Linked DNA regions of Homo sapiens: all the other regions are linked to region 1. Evidence: promoter capture Hi-C in human tissues and cell types (Jung and others, 2019). All regions are on one chromosome and are shown on one strand. Each heading gives the region's core, a stretch centred on a gene start or on the middle of the fragment in contact. The rest is flanking DNA. Distances are from core to core; before and after follow the strand shown.

The links. Contacts are between HindIII fragments. The study calls those that stand out against the background at their distance.
Region 2: a fragment that was not itself captured here is called in contact with the fragment with the promoter of ZNF491 in region 1 in 1 of the 25 tissues and cell types used here (spleen).
Region 3: a contact is called between a fragment that was not itself captured here and the fragment with the promoter of ZNF491 in region 1, in 2 of the 25 tissues and cell types used here (dorsolateral prefrontal cortex and spleen).
Region 4: a contact is called between a fragment that was not itself captured here and the fragment with the promoter of ZNF491 in region 1, in 1 of the 25 tissues and cell types used here (dorsolateral prefrontal cortex).

The regions. Positions count from the first base shown.
Region 1 is chr19:11,796,999-11,799,966 of GRCh38, reverse strand. ZNF491 (zinc finger protein 491) reads right to left here and starts at 1,444. Exons shown (of 3, transcript NM_152356.4): 1 at 1,240-1,444. RefSeq lists enhancers at 1,183-1,342, 1,353-1,452, 1,678-2,189 and a silencer at 2,283-2,452. The HindIII fragment of the contact is 4,685 bases long and covers 1-2,968 here.
Region 2 is chr19:12,275,379-12,278,346 of GRCh38, reverse strand. It overlaps ZNF44 (zinc finger protein 44), which reads left to right. Exons shown (of 4, transcript NM_016264.4): 2 at 2,265-2,391. Among named protein-coding and RNA genes, the nearest start is that of ZNF44, 18 kb to the left of the region's middle. The HindIII fragment of the contact is 9,813 bases long and covers 1-2,968 here.
Region 3 is chr19:12,179,195-12,182,162 of GRCh38, reverse strand. The region is part of intron 1 of ZNF136 (zinc finger protein 136); the gene reads right to left. Among named protein-coding and RNA genes, the nearest start is that of ZNF136, 18 kb to the right of the region's middle. The HindIII fragment of the contact is 3,876 bases long and covers 1-2,968 here.
Region 4 is chr19:12,126,886-12,129,853 of GRCh38, reverse strand. No RefSeq gene overlaps it. Among named protein-coding and RNA genes, the nearest start is that of ZNF20, 12 kb to the left of the region's middle. The HindIII fragment of the contact is 9,523 bases long and covers 1-2,968 here.

The sequences.
Region 1 (2,968 bases), core at 195-2,694:
GAAGCGGCCATCATACCTGACTAATTTTTTTTTTTTTTAACAGAGTCTCGCTCTGTCGCCAGGCTGGAGTGCAGTGGCACCATCTCGGCTCACGCAACCTCCGCCTCCTGCGTTCAAGCGATTGTCTTGCCTCAGCCTCCCGAGTAGCCGGATTACAGGCACGTGCCACCACGCCCAGCTAATTTTTGTATTTTTGGTAGAGTCGGGGTTTCACCATGTTGGCCAGGATGGTCTCGAATTCCTGACCTCGTCATCCGCCCGCCTCGGCCTCCCAAAGTGCTGGGATTGTAGACGTGAGCCACCGCGCCCGGCCATACCCGACTAATTTTTTAAAATATTTTGTACAGACGGGGTCTCGCCATGTTGTCCACGCTGGCATCACCTTGCCTTACGCTGGAATGTTAAATATACTCTTTTAAATTGGAAAGGAAATGAAACCCAAATGTAAAGAAAAAAAAAAAAAAGCTCTATGGGGGCGGGGGGAGGGGGGCGGGCCAAACTCTGATTAAATTGTTGTGCCTCACAAACTAGCCTTGTATAAAAAACGTTGTAATCCTGTTAAATTTCTTGCCTATATAAGCAAGAACTTAAACTTTTAAATTTGAAACACTGAGCCCATTTCCGTGGATCCTGTGTTTTCCCAAATGGGCCATTCCCAGCTTCTTGCTTGAGTAAACTTTAAAAAACTGGAATCTGATTCTTTTATTTCAGGTTGACAAGTCCACATACGGCGACAGCATCACTGTAACTAATCAAGTATTTAATCCTGTTTGCCTCCTCATGCAACTTATAAAAGCCTTTTCTTCAATCACAAGCCATGACCGGGTGTTTCTCACTCGGAATCGCTGTTGCTCCAACAAACTCTTTAACTGTTAACAGAGCCTCAGTTTAATTTTTAGCAGAAGAAAGGCGGGACACATCCGACCCCCCATGACCCTCCCGTGGCCCCCGCACAATCTGGGAAGACGCCGGGCTGCGGGCGCGGAGCTGCCCAGAGAGGACTCCGGGGCCGGGGCCGCAGTCGCCGCGTAGGGACGGGACAGGACGCCCGGGGTCCCAGCTGCGGGCCCAGCCCCACCTGGCGGCCGAGCGGACCGAGGGCCAAGCCACGCCATGGGGGACGCGGGTCCCAATCGCCGGGGTCGCCCGAGCGGAGGCCTGGGTCCCGCCACAGCAGGATCCTGTTGGTTCCACCCAGCCCCTCTTCCACGTATCTGGACGCTAGGCCGGGCACTTTACCATTTCCCTGCTTCTTGGTGTCCCGGCGTCCTCTTTATGACTCCGGAGCAGGTCACAGCGCAGGTGACAGCGTCACAGGAGCCGTGGCGGAGGCACCTGGGGCCTCTCGGAGCAGCAAGGACTGGATGCAGAACGCAACGGACCCCAGCAACAAAGGAGTGCAGAGACTCTGAGTGCGGCCTTCTGCTTCCCCGGATTGACAGTTGGCAGGGCCCCGTCCCAGGGCCCCTGATTGGATGGGGTTCCAGGCTCCGCCCCTCAGCCCTGAGTGACAGGGTAAGCCCTGGGTAACGGAGCCCTGCAGAGCCCGGCTGATTAATCCTAGCTACAGCCTTTCTAAGGCTAAGCTCACTCCCTGCGCCCTGGTCGTTGGCTATCTGCATTTCAGCCAAACTTGCTACTTATTGTTAGAAGGGGCACTGTTAGCTTCCTCGATCTTTCAGAAATGTGTGCTGGGAATTCCAGACTCGGTGTTCAATGGAGTCATTCCTTTGCCTCATAGCAGGAAGGAAATCCAGGCCAGGCCAGGCCAGGCAAGACTGCACCAGGAGGGAGAGGCAGGTGTCCTCTACAGGGCGGGAATTGGGGATGAGACTTCCTCACACTCCCCCCGTCCCACCCCTGAATATGGAACCGCTTCCTCCCCCTAGACTTCATTTTCACCAGCAGAAGTTCTCACCTGGGGTCAGTTTAAGCTTCTAACCTAAGTAAACTATTACCTTCACAAACCCTTTCTCCAGGTGACATGTCAGACAAATCTTACTGAGCCTGATCTTCACAGATTATCTTTGTATGTACAAATTACAGTCTGTCGCCGGGACCCTTTGCACGTAAAAACCAAACACTGCCCCCGCAAAACGTCCCTAGGCTCTAGGTACAGCCCCAGTAAGGACAGAACCTCCCCCCAACCCCCCTACACAAAGTGCACCTGCACGTGAGTCTCCTGCTTTCCAGGGCTCTGTAGCTTCTCAGGATCCACATTCCTTCCGCAGCTGTTCTGAGCAGCTGGAGGCCACCTGCAGTAGAGGGCAGGCTGCCCGGGAAACACCCAGGGGAGCTCCCTTTCCCTCCCTTTGCCGGCTCCAGACTGGCCTCAGCAGGGTGTCACTGGCCTTAGGCTCTGCTGCCCCCTACAGGTTATTCACTTCATTGATCGGTTACCTGAGACAAACACCCTCAGTTCCACTGTACGTATGTATAAAGTGGGGAAGGAAAATTCTAAGATAATTGAAGTGAATTAAAAGACTTGCAGGCAGGGTGCGGGGGCTCACGCCTATAATCCCAACCCTTTTGGAGGCTGAAGCGGGAGGACTGCTTGAACCCAGGAGTTCATCATCCTGGAAAACGGAGCCACACCTCGTCTGTACTAAAAATTTAAAAATTAGCAGTGCGTGGTGTCCTGAACCTGTAGTCCCAGCTACTCGGGAGGCTGAGGTGGGAAGATCTTGAGCCCAGGAGTTTGAAGCTTCAGTGACCTATGATCTCGCCACTGTGCTTCAGCAAGAGTTGTGATAGTTGTATCAGATAAAATAGACTTTAAATAAAAAACAGTACAAAAAGACAAAGAAGATCATGAGATACTGATAACAGAATCAATTCAGCAAGATAATATAGTAATACTAAATATATATGCATCCAACATTGGAGAGGCCAAATTAATAAAGCAAATATTTCTAGACCTAAAGAAAGATATAGATAGCAATACAATAATAGTATGGGACTTCAGCAC
Region 2 (2,968 bases), core at 137-2,636, 480 kb before region 1:
CATATTTATTGACAGTAAGCCAGTGATAAGCGTTGTTTCTATAGATTATAGACTAACTAAAAGCCTTCCTTACGGGAAACAAAGGGAAGGGCTCTGGCTAGTTATCTGCAGCAGGAACTTGTCCTTAAGGCACAGATGGCCCATGCTATTGTTTGTGGTTCAGGAACGCCTTAAGCAGTTTTCCACCCTGGGTGGGCCAGGTGTTCCTTGCCCTCATTCCGGTAAACCAACAACCTTCAGCATGTGCGTCATAGCCATCACGAGCATGTCACAGTGCTGCAGAGATTTTGTTTATGGCTAGATTTGGGGGCCTGTTCCCAACACCTTGGCCTCCCAAAGTACTGGGATTACAGGTGTGAGCCACCACACCTGGCCTTCTAATGTATGTCTTAGTCATCTTGTGTTGTCCTAGGTGGTTGCACACTTTTTGTGTATTTTACAACATTTTAAAGTAGTTCCTGCCCAGTTTGACTCTGATTGGATTCTGTTGTAGATGAAATAGAAAAGAGAGCCTTGTTTCAGACCTTCGGTTAGTCCCCAGACTGATTCAAAAATACAAAGGCAATAATGTGGAAACAAAATGTGATCTGTACACTCTGTGGTGATCAGAGTTCTACACTGGGAACTCTGCTGTCTTCAGGACTGGCAATGAGATGGGCAGAGATGGGGCCAAAGAAAAAACAATACAAGGCTTTTCTATCATTTTTCACTTTCCTGTTTATGTATCTTTTTCTCTCTGTTAATAGTATGGGATGTGAAAAATTACAGTTTTAAATCTTCTGTTTGTTTTTGTAAAGCTGTCTACTTTCTTGATGAGAAGGTTTTTTTTAAGCATCTTTAGACATTTATGACTTCTATAAAAATTGGTTTATGTAATGTTATTGATTATTAAATGTCTGCTGTTGAGATTTATGGAATATAATTGATATTCATGAAAGCTGACACTGAATTCTGTCTAAGAACATTTGCAGTCTGTCCTCTTCTTTTCTTTCTCCTTCGACATTACCCAGTAGAAAGTTACAATTTTTTCTATTTAGTTGGTAAAATCTCTTTTATTAGTCTTTTGTCATACTTAACTACATTTGATCTACAGGGAACCAGTCACCAGCTTCCAAATATTCTCTCTGTGTAATCACGTAGGATAGGCTAAATCCCCCAAGTAAGACATTGAAAAAACAACAACAACAAAAATATGAAATATCATCTACCAGAGTTGCACATTAGGGACCCTGTGCCTAGAGTGTTTCTTTGTGTATGTCTTAGTCTATAAGACTGTTTTTTTGTTACTTACAACAGGATACCAGAACTGGGGTAATCTATAAGAAATGATATTTATTTTTTGCAGTTCTGAAAGCTGGGAAGATCAAGTAAGGTCAAAGTGGGCATCTGGTGGGAATCTTCTTGCTGATGGGGACTCTGTAGAGTCCCTGGGTGGTACAGGGCATTACATGATGAGGGGGCTGAGTGTCTAGCTGAAGTATCTTCCTCTTCTCATAAGGACACCAGAACCTCATCTGTGATAACCAGTTTATTTATTAAGCCATTCATACATGAGTGGATTAATCCATCCATGTGTTCCAAACCCTCAAGACCCACTCACCTCTTAAACCACTACCTTTGATTACTTCCACATTGGAGATTCAGTTTCAGCCTGCATTTTGGAGGGGAAGACATTCAAACCTAGCAGTGGCTGATTGGGTACACTTCCTCTGCTGAGGATGTAATACAATTCCAAACTCTCAGAGGGAAGTTAGGAGTTAAGCAAATACCATAATTTTTACACAAATAGTTTAGGCACACTCCACCCCCTTTATTAGTTATGCTTACGGGGCCCTCCCCTAAATACATTGTCTAGACACCACGAAAGGTTCAACATTGTGAACAAGCAGTTGTAAGGATATGCCGTCTCAGGACTGCTAATTGTAACTCTCTTTTGCACAGTAGGTGGTAGGACTTTGTCATGACAAGGACTACAGACCCACTGTAGAAACAGACATTAGGAGTAATCCAGGCAATAAGATTCACTTGCATAATTCACCAATAAGAGATATGTTCCTACTCAACTGTTATTTTAGCAAGCCCAATTCCAGCATCAGAATTCCAGCATCAGACAGTGAGTGCAGACACAGAATAAGAGTGGATTTACCACGTCATTGAATAAATGCTTGGAAACCACAGCATCATGGGAAGTTTATGAAGGTGAGTATAGGTTCTCAGTACTGTGAGTTTCAACCTTCCTTTTCTGGACATATGGGATGTTTCAGGACTCAGTGGCCTTTGAGGATGTGGCTGTGAACTTCACCCATGAGGAGTGGGCTTTGCTGGGTCCATCACAGAAGAATCTCTACAGAGATGTGATGCGAGAAACCATTAGGAACCTGAACTGTATAGGTATGGATGACATCATGTCTTCATTTGGTCAATTAGAGACATTTGTTTTGTGGTCATCAATGCTGTTCAGTGATTTGAAATATGGAAAAGGGATACAGTTCATTCCTGAACAACACAGGGTGAAGTGCCAGGCCCCAACCTGTTGTATGTCCTCATATAATCTTTTGTCTGCCACAGCTTAACCTACTTTTGACCAGCAGCCTTATCAGTCATATAAACAAGTGACGAGCACATATATGTCATATGTATTGCATACTGTATTCTCAGAATAAAGTAAGTTAGAGAAAGTAAATTTTTTTTCTTTTTTTTTGAGATGGAGTCTTGCTCTGTCGCCCAGGCTGGAGTGCAGTGGCTCCATCTTGGCTCACTACAAGCTCCGCCTCCCGGGTTCACACCATTCTTGCCTCAGCCTCCTGAGTAGCTGGGACTACAGGCGCCCGCCACCATGCCCAGCTAATTTTTTGTATTTTTAGTAGAGACAGGGTTTCAACATGTTAGCCAGGATGGTCTCGATCTCCTGACCTTGTGATCTGCCCACCTCGGCCTCCCAAAGTGCTGGGATTACAGGCATGAGCCA
Region 3 (2,968 bases), core at 247-2,746, 380 kb before region 1:
CTTTATAAAACTGTCATCCACTGCCTTCTGCAAAAATGATAAACTTAAAATATGACATCTTTCTCTAATGGAGAAGGAAGGACAAATAGTCAGCTGGGCATGGTGACTCACACCTGTAATTCCAGCACTTTGGGAGGCCAAGGTGGGTAGATCACTTGAGGTCAGGAGTTCGAGACCAGCCTGGCCAACACGGTGAGACCCCATCTCTACTAAAAAACACAAAAAAATGGCCGGGCGCGGTGGCTCACACCTGTAATCCCAGTACTTTGGGAGGCAGAGACAGGCGGATTGCGAGGTCAGGAGATCGAAACCATCCTGGCTAATATGGTGAAACCCTGTCTCTACTAAAAATACAAAGAAATTAGCCGGGCGTAGTGGTGGGTGCCTGTAGTCCCAGCTACTCGGGAGGCTGAAGCAGGAGAATGGTGTGAACCCGGGAGGCGGAGCTTGCAGTGAGCCAAGATCACACCACTGCCCTCCAGCCTGGGCGACTCAGTGAGGCTCTGTCCCCCCCCAAAAAAAATTAGCTGGGCGTGGTGGCAGGTGCCTGTAATCCCACCTACTCAGGAGGCTGAGGCAGGAAAATCGCTTGAATCCAGGAGGCGGACATTGCAGTGAGTGGAGATTGCGCCACTGCATTCCAGCCTCGGCGACAGAATGAGACTCCACCAAAAAAAAAAAAACAAAAACAAATGCAAAAACAAAACAAAACAAAAAAACCAAATAGTTGATAACACTGTGCATCCGAGAACAGAAGCTGGTGTTGGGGACTGCAGAAATTATACCTACAATTTAGCAGTTTGCTGCCAGATCAAGGAGAGTTAGGCCGGGGGTGGATTTGATACCCTGCTTCCCACACATTTGAGCAACTCAGATGAAACAGAATCGGATGCTGATGGCGAGGAGGCCTGGGCCCCTCCAGCCATGTCGGACCCCAGGCCCCTGCACACTTGCCATTTCCCACACTCGCCATTTCCCATCTTCGGGGTCTCCTGGGTCCTCCCTCCGGCTACCACGGCCAGCACAGAGCACAGAGCCAGGGCAGTGGAGCCAGGAGCCAGAAGAAAGGTAATGCAGCCAGCTCAAGAAAAGAAAATTCACCACAAGATCGTACAGGGTGGGGTGAGGTTGGGGGCAGACAGGGCTCTGAGGCGCGCCTGATTGGACAATAAGTAGGATGCCATCCTGGCACCCCTAACTGGATATAACTTCAGGCTCCGCCCCTGTGGCTTAAGGGGCAGAACACTTAAGATGTTTCAACAGGGATCCAACGTGGTTCTAGCACACACCGTATGCAGTGGTGTGCCTTCCTCCAGGTTCCAGATACCCATGTCCAAAGTCAGCATCACATATTACATGCATTAAAATTTTTAACCAATGCAAAAATGACAATAAGCCATACCTATATCTTTACGGGGAATCATTATTGTTAACCTCAAAAAGGCAGGACTGTCTATATTGCTATGCACTATCTACATCCACACTTAAGCAGTTCCTGAAATGGTGCTGAAGATGTATAAGAGGTGGAAATATAAATGACCGATGGTGACATTTCTTCACTCACTGATGTTGCCACCCTCCACAGAGAACATATACACACACCCTCAGCTTCCGTATTATCTCACACCATCATTTACTTTCCTTCAAAGTGCTTATTTCCTTCTTATAAACCAGTCTTACCATTTTTTCAACCCCTCTCCTTTCTCACAAAAATATAAGCACCAGGATTTCAAGAATTTATTCACTTTGTGTTCCCATATCAGAGCCTTCAGTGCCTGCATCATTTGTGCTTAATTCTGGATGTTCTGAGTCTACAGTTCTGGCATATGAGGCATATTGAAAAATTAGCATCAAGAGCATATTATCTGAGCAAGAGAGGCTTGATTAGAATAGTGATCATGTCTCTGTCCCTTGCTAGGTTTATATTCTGACAACTTTCCTAGAGGCATTAGCCTAATTTGACTAATAAGGGAGACTTTTAAAAATTATCAGTAGTTGGCCGGGGGCGGTGGCTCACGCCTGTAATCCCAGCACTTTGGGAGACCGAGGCAGGCAGATCACGAGGTCAGGAGATCAAGACCATCCTGGCTAACATGGTGAAACCCCGTCTCTACTAAAATTACAAAAAAATTAGCCGGGTGTGGTGGCGGGCACCTGTAGTCCCAGCTACTCGGGAGGCTGAGGCAGGAGAATGGTGTGAACCCGGGAGGTGGAGCTTGCAGTGAGCCGAGACTGCGCCACTGCACTCCAGCCCGGGCAACAGAGCCAGACTCTGTCTCAAAAAAAAAAAATTATCAATAGTTAGAATTTATATATTTCAACTGAGGTATCTTATGGGAAGCCATGTCTAATTCATCATAAGAAATATTTCAGTGTTTAGGTAATAAACTTAGCGCCACTCCATCTTTTTTACTTCTGGGTAAGAACTATCATAATAACCAAGGCCAGAAATAACCTTGCTTCTTCATAGTATACAATCCAGAGAAGCTTCTTGCTTTGAATAGCAATCAATACACCTGAAGCAAGCACACGTCCTAGAAGAAATTCTTTTGGGCTGGGTGTGGTGGCTCACGCCTGTAATCCCAGCACTTTGGGAGGCCGAGGCTGGCAGACCACCTGAGGTCAGGAGATCGAGACCACCCTGGCCAACATGGAGGAACCCCGTCTCTATAAAAAATACAAAAATTAACCAGGCATGGTGACCTGTGCCTGTAATCCCAGCTACTCAGGAGGGTGAGGCAGGAGAATAGCTTGAACCTGGAAGGCAGAGGTTGCAGTAAGCCCAGACTGTGCCACTTGCACTCCAGCCTGGCCGACAGAGTGAGACTCCATCTCAAAAAAAAAAGAAAAAAAAAAAAAGAAATTCTTTTGAGCGCTCTCCTATTGATACACCACACAGTCACGTATGGTTTACTATCATATTTATGATGACTTTTTTTTATACCTTCTTTGACAGGAGCTATGGTCC
Region 4 (2,968 bases), core at 241-2,740, 330 kb before region 1:
CTCACTGCAAGCCTCCGCCTCCCTGGTTCACGCCATTCTCCTGCCTCAGCTTCCCGAGTAGCTGGGACTACAGGTGCCCGCCACCACGCCTGGCTATTTTTTTGTATTTTTTTTTTTAGTAGAGACAGGGTTTCACCATGTTAGCCAGGATGGTCTCGATCTCCTGGCCTCGTGATCCGCCCACCTCGGCCTCCCAAAGTGCTGGGATTATAAGTGTGAGCCACCACGCCTGGCCCAAAAATTCTTATTTTGACTATTCATGTCTTATTTTTGCACTTTTTCACAAAGCAAGGTCAAAAAGCAAAGGAAAAATCCTTTAAGATCAATGTACTTAGGTTGAAAATGTGTTTTTTCTCAGGAAAAACTTGTAATTTATATAATTACAATCCTCAGTTTATTTGCAGCATCACCAAATTTTCTTACATATTTCAAATGTGAACTTAAGATATATATTTTTCTCATTATTTACATTTTGCTTCCTACCTATGGCTTTTTTTTTTTTTTTTTTGAGACAGAGTGTCGCTCTGTTGCCTAGGCTGAATTGCAGTGGCACGATCTCAGCTCACTGCAACCTCTGCTTCCCAGGTTCAAGCAAGTCTCGTCACAACCTCCCAAGTAGCTGGCACTACAGGCGAACACCACCATGCCCAGTTAATTTTTGTGTTTTTTGTAGAATTGGAGTTTCACCATGTTGGCCAGACTGGTCTCTAAACTCCTGGCCTCAAGCGATCCATCTGCCTCGGCCTCCCAAAGTGCTGGGATTATAGGCATGAGCCAACATGCCTGGCTCCTCTAGACCTTTTAAATCTTTTACTCATGATATTGGTCAGCCCACGGTCAAAATAATTCATAAAAGGTATATACAAAAATTCAACACCACAATGAAAGTTAAATTCATTTGTTTAGAACCACTCAAGCAACTCAGGTGTACACAGATAGACCTGTGGCAACTGGTGAACAATTAAATGGCACAGAAGTGGCTGGGTGCAGTGGCTCATGCCTGTAATCCCGGCACTTTGGGAGGCCGAGGCGGGCGGATCATGAAGTCAGGAGATTGAGACCATTCTGGCCAACATGGTGAAACCTGTCTCTACTAAAATACAAAAAATTAGCCGGGCGTGGTGGCGGGCTCCTATAGTCCCAGCTACTCAGGAGGCTGAGGCAGAGGAATCCCTTGAACCCGGGAGGCAGAGACTGCAGTGAGCTGAGATCGTGCCACTGCACTTCAGCCTGGCAAAAGAGCAAGACTCTGTCTCAAAATAAATAAATGGCACGGAAGTTGCAATAATGACCTCTGCTGTGCAGTACTCTCTTGGCAGAGATACACAAGAACTCCAATAAGGCCCTCATATGATATGCAGAACTGCCTCAAACATCATGTGACCATAGAACTTTGCCAAGGACAGTCTTTTTGTACATCTCTGCACCTGGCTTACCCAAAGATTGGACTGGGCGCATTTCTCAAGCCATTGTCTACTGAACGTTCTTTGTAGCGTGTGGGGCAATGACGATTGCCTAGGTGTAATTTCCTAATCGCTGGGGTAGGTCTGGTTTCTGAGGGCCCAGCAGAGGAACTCAGTTCACAAAAATGGCTTCCTGTAGTTTCTGCTTGATACTTCCTATTCTGCCATCTTCCCAGAATCCTCTTTCCTGACTTCATATACTAACACGTCATTTCAGATCTCACTACAGATGTCACCACCTCAAGACACTGTCTTCTTTTCCGCCCCCCTTACCCCAACTTGAAACTCAAGGTCACACTCTCTCACCCATTACTCCTATTTCATTTAGTGTGTAGAATTTTTTCAACACACTTGTCAGAATCTGGAACATAACGTTCACAGGGTTGATTGCTCTCTGTTTAACAAGGTAAAAAGTTAAGTCATGTAGGCTGGGTGCGGTGGCTCACGCCTGTTATCCCAGCACTTTGGGAGGCCAAGGTAGACAGATCACGAGGTCAGGAGATCGAGACCATCCTGGCTAACATGGTGAAACCCTGTCTCTACTAAAAATACAAAAAATTAGCCGGGCGTGGTGGCGGGCGCCCGTAGTCCCAGCTACTCAGGAGGCTGAGGCAGGAGAATGGCATGAACCTGGGAGGCAGAGCTTGCATTGAGCCAAGATTGTGCCACTGCACTCCAGCCTGGGTGACAGAGCAAGACGCTGTCTCAAAAAAAAAAAAAAAAAAGTCATGTAAATTTAAGTGTCACCTTTCTTTTCTTTTCTTTTTTTTTTTGAACCTTTTCACCAACTGTTACACACTTTTTTTTTTTTTGAGACAGAGTCTCGCTCTGTCGCCAGGCTTGAGTGCAGTGGTGCGATCTCAGCTCACTGCAACCTTCACCTGCTGGGTTCAAGCAATTCTCCTGCCTCAGCCTCCCGAGTAGCTGGGATTACAGGCACGCACTACCACACCTGGTTAATTTTTGTATTTGTATTTGTATTACAGATGTGAGCCACCGCGCCTGGCTTACACCCTATATTAAAAAGTATTTCAGGGGCCAGGCACGGCGGCTTATGCCTATAATCCCAGCACTTTGGGAGGCCAAGGCGGGCGGATCACTTGAGGTCAGGAGTTCTAGACCAGCCTGGCCAACATAGTGAAACCCTGTCTCTACTAAAAGTACAAAAATTAGCCGGCTGGGGTGGTGGCCACCTGTAATCCCAGCTACTCGGGAGGCTGAAGCAGGAGAATCACTTGAACCTGGGAGGCAGAGGTTGCAGTGAGCTGAGACTGCAACACTGCACTCCAGCCTGGGCAACAGAGCAAGACCTTGTCTCTAAAATAACATAACATAACATAACATAACATAACATAACATAACATAACATAACATAACAACATAACATAACATAAATACAGTAGAGTAGAGTAGAGTAGAATTTCCAACAAAGTCCTTTGAACCATTTTCCAGAAAGGCAACGTCAATGAAGCTCCCTCTTGTGGTAAGGGCGGCATTAACATCCA